Linked DNA regions of Homo sapiens: region 1 is linked to region 2. The links are contacts of gene promoters, found by promoter capture Hi-C in blood cells and fetal thymus (Javierre and others, 2016). All regions are on one chromosome and are shown on one strand. The core of a region is centred on a gene start or on the middle of the fragment in contact, and the rest is flanking DNA. Distances in the headings are between cores, read along the strand shown. Region 1 has its middle 51 kb from the start of C16orf82. Region 2 holds the start of IL21R (interleukin 21 receptor).

Region 1 (5,783 bases), core at 2,585-5,084, 280 kb before region 2:
TCTTGATAAATATTTGTGGAATTAAAAAAAGCTTTATGTTCACTCTGGAGAGAGTGAGGACACTCACTCTGGAACCCCTGAAGGCAGAGGGTGCCCTGGGGTCTCTTTTCCAGGTTATGATCAGGCCTTTCTTGCCTCAAATCTCTCCACATCACCTCTCAGGGTCCACAAATTCTCGCACTTCAGTAACATCCCCAGTTGTGCTTCCTGAGAAGTAGCTGGGTGCTGATGAAAGAGCTTTGGCACAGGGCTCAGACACACCTGGGTTTCACTCCTGGCTCTGCTATGCCCATTGCCTCTCTGGCCCTCAGTTCCGCCATCTATTAAAAAGGAAACCCAAATGGAACCCAACATACTGGGGTCGTGGAAAGGAGCAATGAGACCCAGGCACGTAAGGCAGCCAGCACTGCCCTGCCCCATGCCAGGGATTTGAAGAGCAGCAAAGAGAATGAGATGCTGAAGGGTCCCTGGGAAAGGGTCCCGGGTCTTCCCCACCCAGGCTGAAGCCCAATCAGGAGAGGAAGGTGGACCTGTGAAGGTAGGGGCGGTGCCTAGACTAATGTAGCTGGGAGAGGCTTCCAGAGCTCTCCATGCACAAGCTGGTGTGGAGCAGTGCAGGAGTCCCAGGCGTGTAAGAGCAATGTGGACGTGGTGAAGGACTCAGGAGGGTTCAGAAAAATTCAGTAATTGTCTGGGCGTGGTGGTTCATGCCTGTAATCCCAACATTTTGGGAGGCTGAGGCAGGTGGATCACCTGAGGTCAGGAGTTTGAGACCAGCCTGGCTAATGTGGTGAAACCCCCTCTCCACTAAAAAGACAAAAATTAGCTGGGCATGGTGGCGCATCCCTGTAATCCCGGCTATTCAGGAGGCTGCGGCAGGAGAATCACTTGAACCTGGGAGGTGGAGGTTGCAGTGAGCCGAGATGATGCCACTGCACTCCAGCCTAGGCGATAGAGTGAGACTCCGCCTCAAAAAAAACAAGAAAAAAAAAAAGGAAGAAAAGAAAAAGAAAAGGAAAGAAAAGCTCAGTAACTTCCCAGTGCATCTCATTGAACTTAGCATGGGCACCCACCTGATCTCAATGCACCCAGGAGTTGGCATTCGAGGGCAGCAAGGAGCATCCCTCAGACTTGGATGCAGTTATACACAGCGCCACAGCAGCACGCATGGCCTGACGTCAAAGACTGGCTGAGAATCTCAGAAAATCATGGATGTCCCCTCCCCAACACCCTGACCTCCGCCCCTGCCGAACTTAGGGGTAACCCCAAGGAATGTAAGGAAACCTAAATTGATTGGAAGAATGGACACAAATTAAACATGGTTATGAACTTTGTTAGTCCATTTTGCATTGCTGTAAAGGAATACCTGAGGCTGGGTAATTTATTAAAAGAAAGGAGGTTTATTTGGCTCAAGGTTCTGCAGGCTGTGCAAGCATGGTGCCAGCATCTGCTCAGTTTCTGGTGAGGCCTCAGGAAGCTTTTAATCATGGCAGAGAGGAAGAGGAGCCAACGTGTCACATGATGAGAGGGAGCAAGAGAGACATGGGAGGTCCTAGACTCTATTCTTCCTTTAATTTTTCAACTTTTGTGGGTACATAGTAGTGTATATATTTATGGGGTACATGAGAGATTTTGATACAGGCAGGCAATGCATAATAATCCTATCAAGGTAAACGGGGGATCCATCATTGGAAGCATTTATCCTTTGTGTTACAAACAAGCCAATTACACTCTTTTAGTTATTTATAAATGTGTAATTAAATTATTATTGACCATAGTCACACTGTTGTGCTATCAAATCTATCAAATACTAGGTCTAATTCTCCTTTTTTTTTTTTTTTTTTTTTTTTTTTGAGATGAAGTCTCGCTCTGTTGCCCAGGCTGGAATGCAGTGGCATGACCTCAGCTCACTACAACCTCCTCCTCCCAGGTTCAAGTGATTCTCCTGCATCAGCCTCCTGAGTAGCTGGAGCTACAGGCACCCACCACCACACCTGGCTAATTTTTGTATTTTTAGTGGAGATGGGGTTTCACTATGTTGGCAAGGCTGGTCTTGAATTCCTGACCTCAAGTGATCCACCCGCCTTGGCCTCCCAAAGTGCTGGGATTACAGCCATGAGCCACTGCACCTGGCCCTTATTCATTCTTTCTAACTATTTTTGTACTCATTAGCCTTCCCAACTCCTCCCCGCCACCAACCGGCACCCCCCACTACCCTTCGCAGCCTCTGGTCACCATCTTTCCCAGGCTCTAAATTTTTAACGGCCAGATCTCACATGAATAGAATGAGAACTCACTCATTACCACCAGGAGGGCACCAAGACATTCATGAGGGATCTGCCCCCATTTCCCACTAGGCACCACCTTTAACATTGGGAATCACATTTCAACATGAGATTTGGAGGAGACAAACATCCCAACCATAGTGTGAAGTGAATGAATAAAGAGAGTGATATTTCCCATGCACCTGAGATGTGGACTGACATTTCTACCACATGGTACGTTGCCAGAATCCTCCATTGGGTGTGTGTGTGTCTTGCGACTTGAATGAGCCTGAGAAGCCTTGAGACTTCTTCCTGGGCCTCGGAAGGGCTGTCCTTATCAGGGACAGCTATTCTGCAAGAACTCTGCATGGGGAAGAGTAGAAATGACTGGGGGTGTAAATGTTGTCTGATTAATCACAAGAGAAAGTGCCTCTTAGATGGAGCTGCCCAGTGATGGAAAGGACTACCATGAAAGGAAGCGAGTTTCCTATTCCTGCAGGTATGCAAGTGACACTGTCAGAGGTGTGGAGAAGTAACTCCTACCTGTGGAGTTTGCCTGACTAAAATAACACTGAGGCCCCTCTGAAGCTTTATAGGCTCTGAGTCTTCCAGCAGAGCCCAGAGTGATGTTGGGTAATCAGAGACGGAATTAGCTGAATGCATGGGGAGGGGAGGAGGAAGAGAGAAGGAAGAAGAATAGGAAACAGTAAGGGAGGAGAGTAGGAGAAAGGAAATAAGGGTCCCAACTGAGAAGGCCCAACATTAGTCAAAAGTTTTTCAAAGAAAGGCCGGGCGTGGTGGTTCACGCCTGTAATCTCAGCACTTTGGGAAGCTGAGGCGGGCAAATCACTTGAGGTCAGGAGTTCGAGACCAGCATGGTCAACATGGCAAAACTCCATTTCTACCAAAAATACAAAAGTTAGGCGGGCATGGTGGCGTGCACCTGTAATCCCAGCTACTTGAGAGGCTGAGGCAGGAGAATTGCTTGAACCCAGAGGGCAGAGGTTGCAGTGAGCTGAGATAGCACCACTGCACTCCAGCCTGGGCAAGAGAATGAGACTCCATTTCAAAAAAAAAAAAAAAAAAAAAAGTTTTTCAAAGATAATATTTCCCAAGTGGGGGCCACATGTTCACAACAGTCAGAATAGCTTAAACCAAGCTTGTCCAGCCTGCAGCCTGCAGGCCACATGCAGCCCAGAATGGCTTTGAATGTGGCCCAACACAAATTCAAAAACTTTCATAAAACATTATGAGATTTATGCATGGCGCTTTTTTTTTTTTTTTAGCTTATCAGCCATCATTAGTGTTAGTGTATTTTATGTGTGGCCCAAGACAGTTCTTCCAATGTGGCCCAGGGAAGCCAAAAGATTGGGTGCCCCTGGACTATGCTGCAGTAACAAATTAACCTGAAATCTCAGTGCTTTGGCACAGTAAATGTATTTCTCACTCATGTAGAGTCCAGGTGTCCCTATGGCTGTGATATCTGGAATGCAAGGAGGAGGATGGAATGCAAAAGGGAGCTGGAAAAAGCCCACTAGCATTACACTGCCACAGCCCAGCAGTGAAACGGCACTTCACTGCCACAGCCCAATAGTAGCACTCACCAGCCAGTGCCCAGAAGAAGTCACATGATCCCAACCATCTGCAAAGGAAGTTGAGAAACTTAGAGAAGACGGTGGATATTTTGAGAGCAATAATTTTCTCTACCACAGACACAGACCCATAATGGAACACAATTTTAGATGGTAAATACGATAATTTTTGGTGAAAATAAATAAAGCGTTAAAAAACATTGAGCTGCGTAATGAGAAAATTCTTCCCAGATCAATTATCTCAAAAGCCTCATAATTATGAGAAAGTCTCAGCTTGGTGATAATATGTCTTTAACACCTCCCTAAAAGTCTAACACTGCTAGTCTTTATCAATATATAAAGCACTGACCTCAGATTTAGAGCCTTCAAGAGAAAAGAGAATATTCTACTTAAGCTTACAAAACACTGGTGTGTTCCCATCATATTCATTTTCATGATTACCTCCTATTTACGGAAAATGATGCCAATTTTCCATGTAGGGTGACAAAGTAAAGTTTCCTTTTAAATAAATTTATTTTTTAAAATTGACTCTCTTTAAAGAAGACTATTAAGTTAGTAGTAGTATAGGTGGTACCCGAATATGGCAAAAAAGCATTAATGATGCAGTGTGAGTTATTGAAGTTTGTAAAATTCTGTTCCACCTCCAATTCAGCAGTGCATATATTGGATTTTTTATGTGTTTGTTTAGTATTTAATTGACAAAAAGATTTTATATTTTAAGGTGTATGACTGATGATTTGATATACATTGTTTAATGATGACCACAATCAAATTCATTAACATATCCATCATCACCCATGTCATACACCAGATCCCCAGAATTTGTTCATGTTATAACTGAATGTTTGTGCCCTGTGACCACCATTTCCCCATGTACCCAGTAACTACTGTTCTACTCTCTACTTCTATGAATTCAACTTTTTAATATTCTACATATAAATAAGACCATACATTATTTGTCTTTCTGGGTCTAGATTATTTCACTTCCCATAATTTCCTCTAAGTTCATCCATGTTGTTGCAAAAGACAGGATTTCATTCCTTTTTATGGCTGAATAATATTCTCCATTCATCCATCCATGGATATTTAGGTTGTTTCCATATCTTGGCTACCGTGAATACAGCTGCAATGAACATGAGGTGCAGATACCTCTTCGACATAGCAATTTCACAGCCTTTAGCTATATACCCAGAAGTTAGATGGCTGGATCATGTGGTACTTGTATTTGTGGCTTTTTGAGGAACCCCCATACTGTTTGCCCTAATGGCTATACTAATTTCCATTTCCACCAACAGTGTATAAGCATTTCTTTTTCTCTACACCCTCACCAGCACTTGCCAACTCTTATCTTTTTGATAATAGTCATCCTAACAGGTGCGAGATATCTCACTGTAGTTTTGTTTGCATTTATCTGATGATTAGTGATATTGAGCACTTTTTCATATACCTGTTGGCCATTTGTATGTCTTCCTTAGAAAAATGTTTATTCAGATCCTTTGCCAATTTTTTTTTTCCAATCTATACTCTTACTTTACTTTTTTTCCTTTTACTTTTATTTTGAGTTCTGGGGTACATGTGCAGAATGTGCAGGTTTGTTACATAGGTGTACCATGGTGGTTTGCTGCACAGATCAACCCATCACTTTGGTATTAAGCCCAGCATCCATTAGCTATTCTTCCTGATGCTCTGCCAATTTTTAAATAGCATTATTTGGGTTTGGGAGTTTTTTGTGTTGTTTTGTTTTGGGGGGTTATTTGGTTGATTGGTTTTGCTATTAAGTTATGTGAGTTCTTTCTATATTTTTGTTATTAGCCCCTTATGAGATGTACAGTTCACAAATATTTTATCCCATTCCATAGTTTGCCTTTGCATTTCACTTATTGTTTTCTTTGGTGTGCAGAAGCTTTTTAGCTTGATGTAGTCCCAC
Region 2 (5,740 bases), core at 3,241-5,740:
GAGGCCGAGGCGGGCGCATCACGAGGTCAGGAGATCGAGACCATCCTGGCTAACACGGTGAAACCCCGTCTCTACAAAAGAAAATACAAAAAATTAGCCAGGCGTGGTGGCAGGCACCTGTAGTCCCAGCTACTCGGGAAGCTGAGGCAGGAGAATGGCGTGAACCCGGGAGGCGGAGCTTGCAGTGAGCCGAGATCGCGCCACTGCACTCCAGCCTGGGCGACAGACCGAGACTCCATCTCAAAAAAAAAAAAAAAAAGAAAAAAAAAAAAAAGAAAATACATATTGTCAAGGACGTAGAGAAATGGGAACCTTCAGACATTGCTGGTGGGAATATAATACAGGGCAGCTGCTGTGAAAAACAGTTTGTCAGTTTCTTAATAAGTTAAACTTATTTAAAAGTTAATAAGTTAAACTACCTTTAACTCAACAAGTCTCCTTCTGGGTATATATCCAAAAGATTTGAAAATGCATGTCTACACAAAGACTCGCATGCAAGTGTTCATAGCATGCTTGTTTGTAGTAAAGGAAAAAGTGGACATACTCCAAATGTCCATCATCTCATGAAAGGATAAATGAATGTGGCATATCTATGCAATGTAATATTCTTCAGCAATAAAAATCAATTTTTATTTTTTATTTTTTTGAGATGGAGTTTCGCTCTGTCTCCCAGGCTGGAGGGCAGTGGCACTAGCTCTGCTCACTGCAACCTCCACTTCCCGTGTTCAAGCAATTCTCCTGCCTCAGCCTCCTGAGTAGCTAGGGCTACAGGTGCACGTCACCATACCTAACTAATTTTTGTATTTTTAGTAGAACAGGGTTTCACCATGTTGGCCAGGCTGGTCTCAATCTCCCGGCGTGTGCAACCACACCAGGCTAATTATTGTATTTTTTAGTAGAGGCGGGGTTTTACCATGTTGTCCAAGCTGGTCTCGAACTCCTGATCTCAAGTGATCCGCCCACCTTGGCCTCCCAAAGTGTTGAGATTACAGGCATGAGCCACCGCGCCTGGCCTAAAAATGGATTTTTAGATATGTGGTGCCAACACACGCTACAACGTGGTTGAACCCCAAACACGCGATGCTGAAAGAAACTAAACACAAAAGACAACATATTGATATGAGATGCCTAGGAAAAAAAAAAAGCAAAATCAGTAGAGGCATAAAGTAGACGAGTGGCCCTGGGAATGGGAATGGAGATTGACTATAAGCAGGCACAAGGAACCTTTCAGGAGTGATGGGATTGTTTTAAAATTGGATCGTGGTTATAATTGCACAATTCGATAAATTCACTAAAAATCATTGAACTGTACATTTACAGTGGCTTGATTTTATGTTATGTAAAACATAGCTAAATAAAGCTCTTAAAATAAAAATAAAAAAGAGGAAATGGGTTGAGGGAGGGGGTGTGTCAATTATTTTTTCCCAGGAGGCCCCTTGGCTGAAATGCAAATGTGACCACTTCCTCCCCGCTGACCAGCTATCAGCACTGAGGCATGGTTGGAGGGCCGCTGAGATCCTATGGCACCTTCCTTCCAAGGGTATAGAGGCCATACTTATGAGACATTTACAGACCCAGAGGAACCCCTCAAGGGACCACATGTCTATTTCTGAGGGGACTCATGTTTACCCCAGTGGACATGGGCCTGGCAGCTCCAAATGCATCTACTTTTTAAGCACCAAGGGACTGTGACCCCTGCTGATCCCACCCATTCCCCAACTCCTGGCCTGAACTGAAAATGTAAACTGGATTAAGCCACTCTTAAGATGAAACCCTCCAATGATGACTTCCCATTTCCTTTGGAACAATCTACCTTCCTCACCCAAAACCGTGAGGTCCCATGTGGTGTAGATGTGTGATTTCCGTGCCTTCACCTTCTACTATTCCTCCATTTGCTCACTGTATTACGCCATGCTGTTCTCAAGTTCCTGGAGCCAGCCACATTCTTTCCTACCTCAGTGCCTTTGCACTTGCAGATCCTTCTGCCGATAATGTTCTTCCCATGGCTGGGCACTTCTTAGCACCTAGTGTACCCCCAAATGTCACAACCTTGATCTCTCATTGGTTTTCTATGACATTTAGTACAGTTTACATTGAGTTTGTCTGTTACTTCTTTTTGTCTAACTCTCCCTACTAGAATATAGGCTCCATGGGGGCTGTCACTGTGTGTATATTTCTGTGGGCTAGCCCCAGGATGTAGCCAAGCTGCGTGATTTTGGACAAGTCACTTAACCTCTCTGAGCCTGCTCAATAAATATTAGGGGGAGGAAGCAAGGAATGGCTGGGTGGGTGGGTGCAGAGAAGAATGAATGGGTGGATAGGTAGGTGGGTGGGTAGAAAGCAGGTAGATAAAGAAGGCAGGCAGGAGGGAGGGAGGAGAAATTGAATATCCTTGTTTTCATACACACCCCAGAGCAGTGTAGTGAGTTAAGAGTGCGGGCTCTGGAGCCCAAATGACTGAGTTCAAATCCCAACTCTGGCACTCATCAGCTGTGTGACCTTGGACAAGTCACTTAACCTCTCTGAGCCTCAGTTTCCTCATCTGTAAAACAGGGACGATGATGATGATGATGATAACTATCTTCTAGACTCATTCTTTTTCATTTTGGGGATTTTATTTTTGAAGACAGAGTCTTGCTCTGTTGCCCAGGCTTGAGTGCAGCACTACAGTCATAGCTCACTGCAGCCTTCAGCTCCTTGGCTCAAGTGGTCCTCCCACCTCAGCCTCCAGAGTAGCTGGGACTACAGGCGTGCACCACCATGACTGTCTAATTTTTAAATTTTTTTATAGAGACAGGGTCTTGCTATGTTGCCCAGACTGGTCTTGAACTCCTAGCCTCAATCGATCCTCCCACCTCAGCCTCCCAAAATGATGGAATTATAGGTGTGCACCGCTGCACACAGCCTTCTCGAGTATTTCTGAGGTTTAAATGAGAGGGTGCATCTTTAAAGTCCTTAAAACCCTGGCACACAATGAGCTTTCAGCAAATATTAGCTCTTTTTACTGTCTCTTCTCCTGATCTTTCAACCACTACAAATTTCAGTGCATGTTATCAGAGAATTCACCCCGAAGATCAAGAGAAAGAAAAACAAAAGCTGGTGTCTTCCCAAGGTTCGTTCTCCAGAGAACACGACACACTTCGGTAGCTGGGAAGAGCTCTACAGGGCCAGGATCCCTCAAATCAACCACAGGGGAATTTGTACCAAGTTCCTCAAAAACAGCTAGAAAAAAAAAGAAAGAAAGAATAGCAAGACGCTTTCTCTTTTTTCTCTGGAGTGGTCACGAAAGTCAACAGCAAGTTGATTCCCAAAAATGAGTCAGCAGGGAGAGCTACAAATTGCATCTTGTTATCAAAACAGCATAAAATAGCCTCCCCCAACTGTGGGACATTTCATCCTGGTATGGCCCCGTTTTCACAGCCTGGTATAAGCTTAGGAATCAAACACACCCAGGTTCAAATCCCAGCTCTAATTCTTCTTGGCTTGTGTGACGTTTCACTCCTCTGGGCCTCAGTCTCTCCATCTGTAAAATGGGACTAATCTTGTCTGCCTCACACTTTGTGGGATAAAGTGAGATCATGTAGGCACCAAAGTAATTCGAGGTGGTGGTGATGGCAGTGGTAGTGGTGGTGGTGGTAGCGGTGGTGGTGGTAGCAATTCTCTTGCTCTCCTTTGGAGACTGCACTAGGCATTAAGCTTGTTACATTTTGTCTCCTGGTTTCTTGAATGTCTTCCAGAAACATCTGACCCTCTCATGGGCCTCTGGCATGTTAGCAAGATGAAAACTCTCTTGAGAATTTCTTTTCTCTATTTTCTTCTTGAATTCTCATGTGTTAATGTCTGCCCTCTTCCTCATAGCTAGGTGCCCCCATTTGACAGATGGGCAAAGTGAGGCATTCAGAGAGGTGATGTGACGTGCCCAAGGGGTCCTGCTCCCTGGAGCTCTGCAGCAGGAGACTGGATCCAAAGGAAATGGAGGCAGAGAGGCATGGGGGTCAAGCCAGAGCAGAGGGTCCCAAGCTCAGACCCTATTAGGCAGGTAAGGCTCAGGAATAAGAAACAGGCTGGTTTGCAAAGTCTGAAAAAGGGGCTTCCGTGGGACCTTGGGCAAGGTTCTGGTCCTTCTCTCTGTGCTGAGGGGCTGGAGTCGGCCACTGAGGACTCTGGGTCCACGGGTGAAACTGTGCCACATCTTCACACCTCTGGCCTCAGTTTCCATATCTGTGCAATGTGGTGGCTCCAGGAGGCACTGCCTGCCTCATGGGTTATGACTGAGAGGCCTGTGGGGATGATGTCACAGGTCCCTAAGAGGGAAGTGTCACCCCGATGGCCCCAAATGTCTTACTTGCAGGTGACCTTTGGTGACAGTGGGTGCCTGCTGTGGGGCCAGGCCCCCTCCCACCTCTTTCTCACTCCCTCCCAGGAGGAGCCCAGCTGCGGGTGGGCGGGGCTGGCGGGGAGCGGCTCACCACATCCTCCTCTTCCTCCCCACTCTGCACATGCGGCTGGGTGGCAGCCAGCGGCCTCAGACAGACCCACTGGCGTCTCTCTGCTGAGTGACCGTAAGCTCGGCGTCTGGCCCTCTGCCTGCCTCTCCCTGAGTGTGGCTGACAGCCACGCAGCTGTGTCTGTCTGTCTGCGGCCCGTGCATCCCTGCTGCGGCCGCCTGGTACCTTCCTTGCCGTCTCTTTCCTCTGTCTGCTGCTCTGTGGGACACCTGCCTGGAGGCCCAGCTGCCCGTCATCAGAGTGACAGGTCTTATGACAGCCTGATTGGTGACTCGGGCTGGGTGTGGATTCTCACCCCAGGCCTCTGCCTGCTTTCTCAGACCCTCATCTGTCACCCCCACGCTGAACCCAGCTGCCACCCCCAGAAGCCCATCAGACTGCCCCCAGCACACGGAATGGATTTCTGAGAAAGAAGCCGAAACAGAAGGTAATTCCAGCCCTGGTTTTCTGCTGGGACCAGGGTGCCTTCTCTGCCCAGGAGGGACTGTTCCCTGCCTGCTGCATCTAGTGTCACAGTGGGAGGGCTCGGAGGACTGTGCCCAAGTCACAATTGGGGACACTGAGGCAAAGAAGATTCATGCAGTGAGGCTGGGCAGAAATGAGGTTGGGGTCTCTTGTTCAGCACAGCTTAGGGGCCCAGCAGCAGGGATGTGGCTGAGACGACCCTCTATCTTGAAAACCAGCCTCCAAAATGTAGCGGGCTGGGGAAGGAAAGCCAGTTTCAAGCCAAACATAACATGTCAATCACCCGATTCTGGGCGGCTGAGTCGGGAGGTGACGGGCATGGGTGTAGAGCCTGATGGGACCCATTCTGTGTCAGTTTCTATGTCTTACCACCTTGATTCCACCCAGTCATTCAAAACAATGGCTGGTGTGCCCATTTCGCAGATGAGGCAATGAGGCTGCGAGAGGTAGAGTGATTTTCCCTCGGTGACTCAACTGGGACGTAGCAGGTCGGGCAGTCAAGCCAGGTGACCCCATGAGCTGTCGCTGCATCTTTCTCATGAAGCACGGGGAACGGGTCGGATGGTAAGAGGCCAACCCAGTTCCCTGTGCATGTGGAGGAGAGGAGGGTGGGGAGGTCAGTGGAGGCTGAGCCTTGAAGGATGGGAAAGGAAGAACATTCCTGGTGGAGGAGCCCTGGGGAGCGGGAACTTAGGACTTGCCGCAGGAATGACGTCTCTGCTCAGTGAAGGCAGAAGACCAGGTGCGGGACATTCAAAGCCAGGAGG

Evidence for each region. Contacts are between HindIII fragments. The CHiCAGO score rates a contact against its expected background, and 5 or more counts as called.
Region 1: a fragment that was not itself captured here is called in contact with the fragment with the promoter of IL21R in region 2 in 5 of 17 cell types (total CD8 T cells, total B cells, naive B cells and 2 more); the score reaches 6.4 in total CD8 T cells.

What each region holds. Positions count from the first base shown.
Region 1 is chr16:27,114,845-27,120,627 of GRCh38, forward strand. No RefSeq gene overlaps it. Among named protein-coding and RNA genes, the nearest start is that of C16orf82, 51 kb to the left of the region's middle. The HindIII fragment of the contact is 827 bases long and covers 3,422-4,248 here.
Region 2 is chr16:27,397,684-27,403,423 of GRCh38, forward strand. IL21R (interleukin 21 receptor) reads left to right here and starts at 4,491. Exons shown (of 9, transcript NM_181078.3): 1 at 4,491-4,935. RefSeq lists enhancers at 4,568-5,110, 5,003-5,122. The HindIII fragment of the contact is 2,346 bases long and covers 3,695-5,740 here.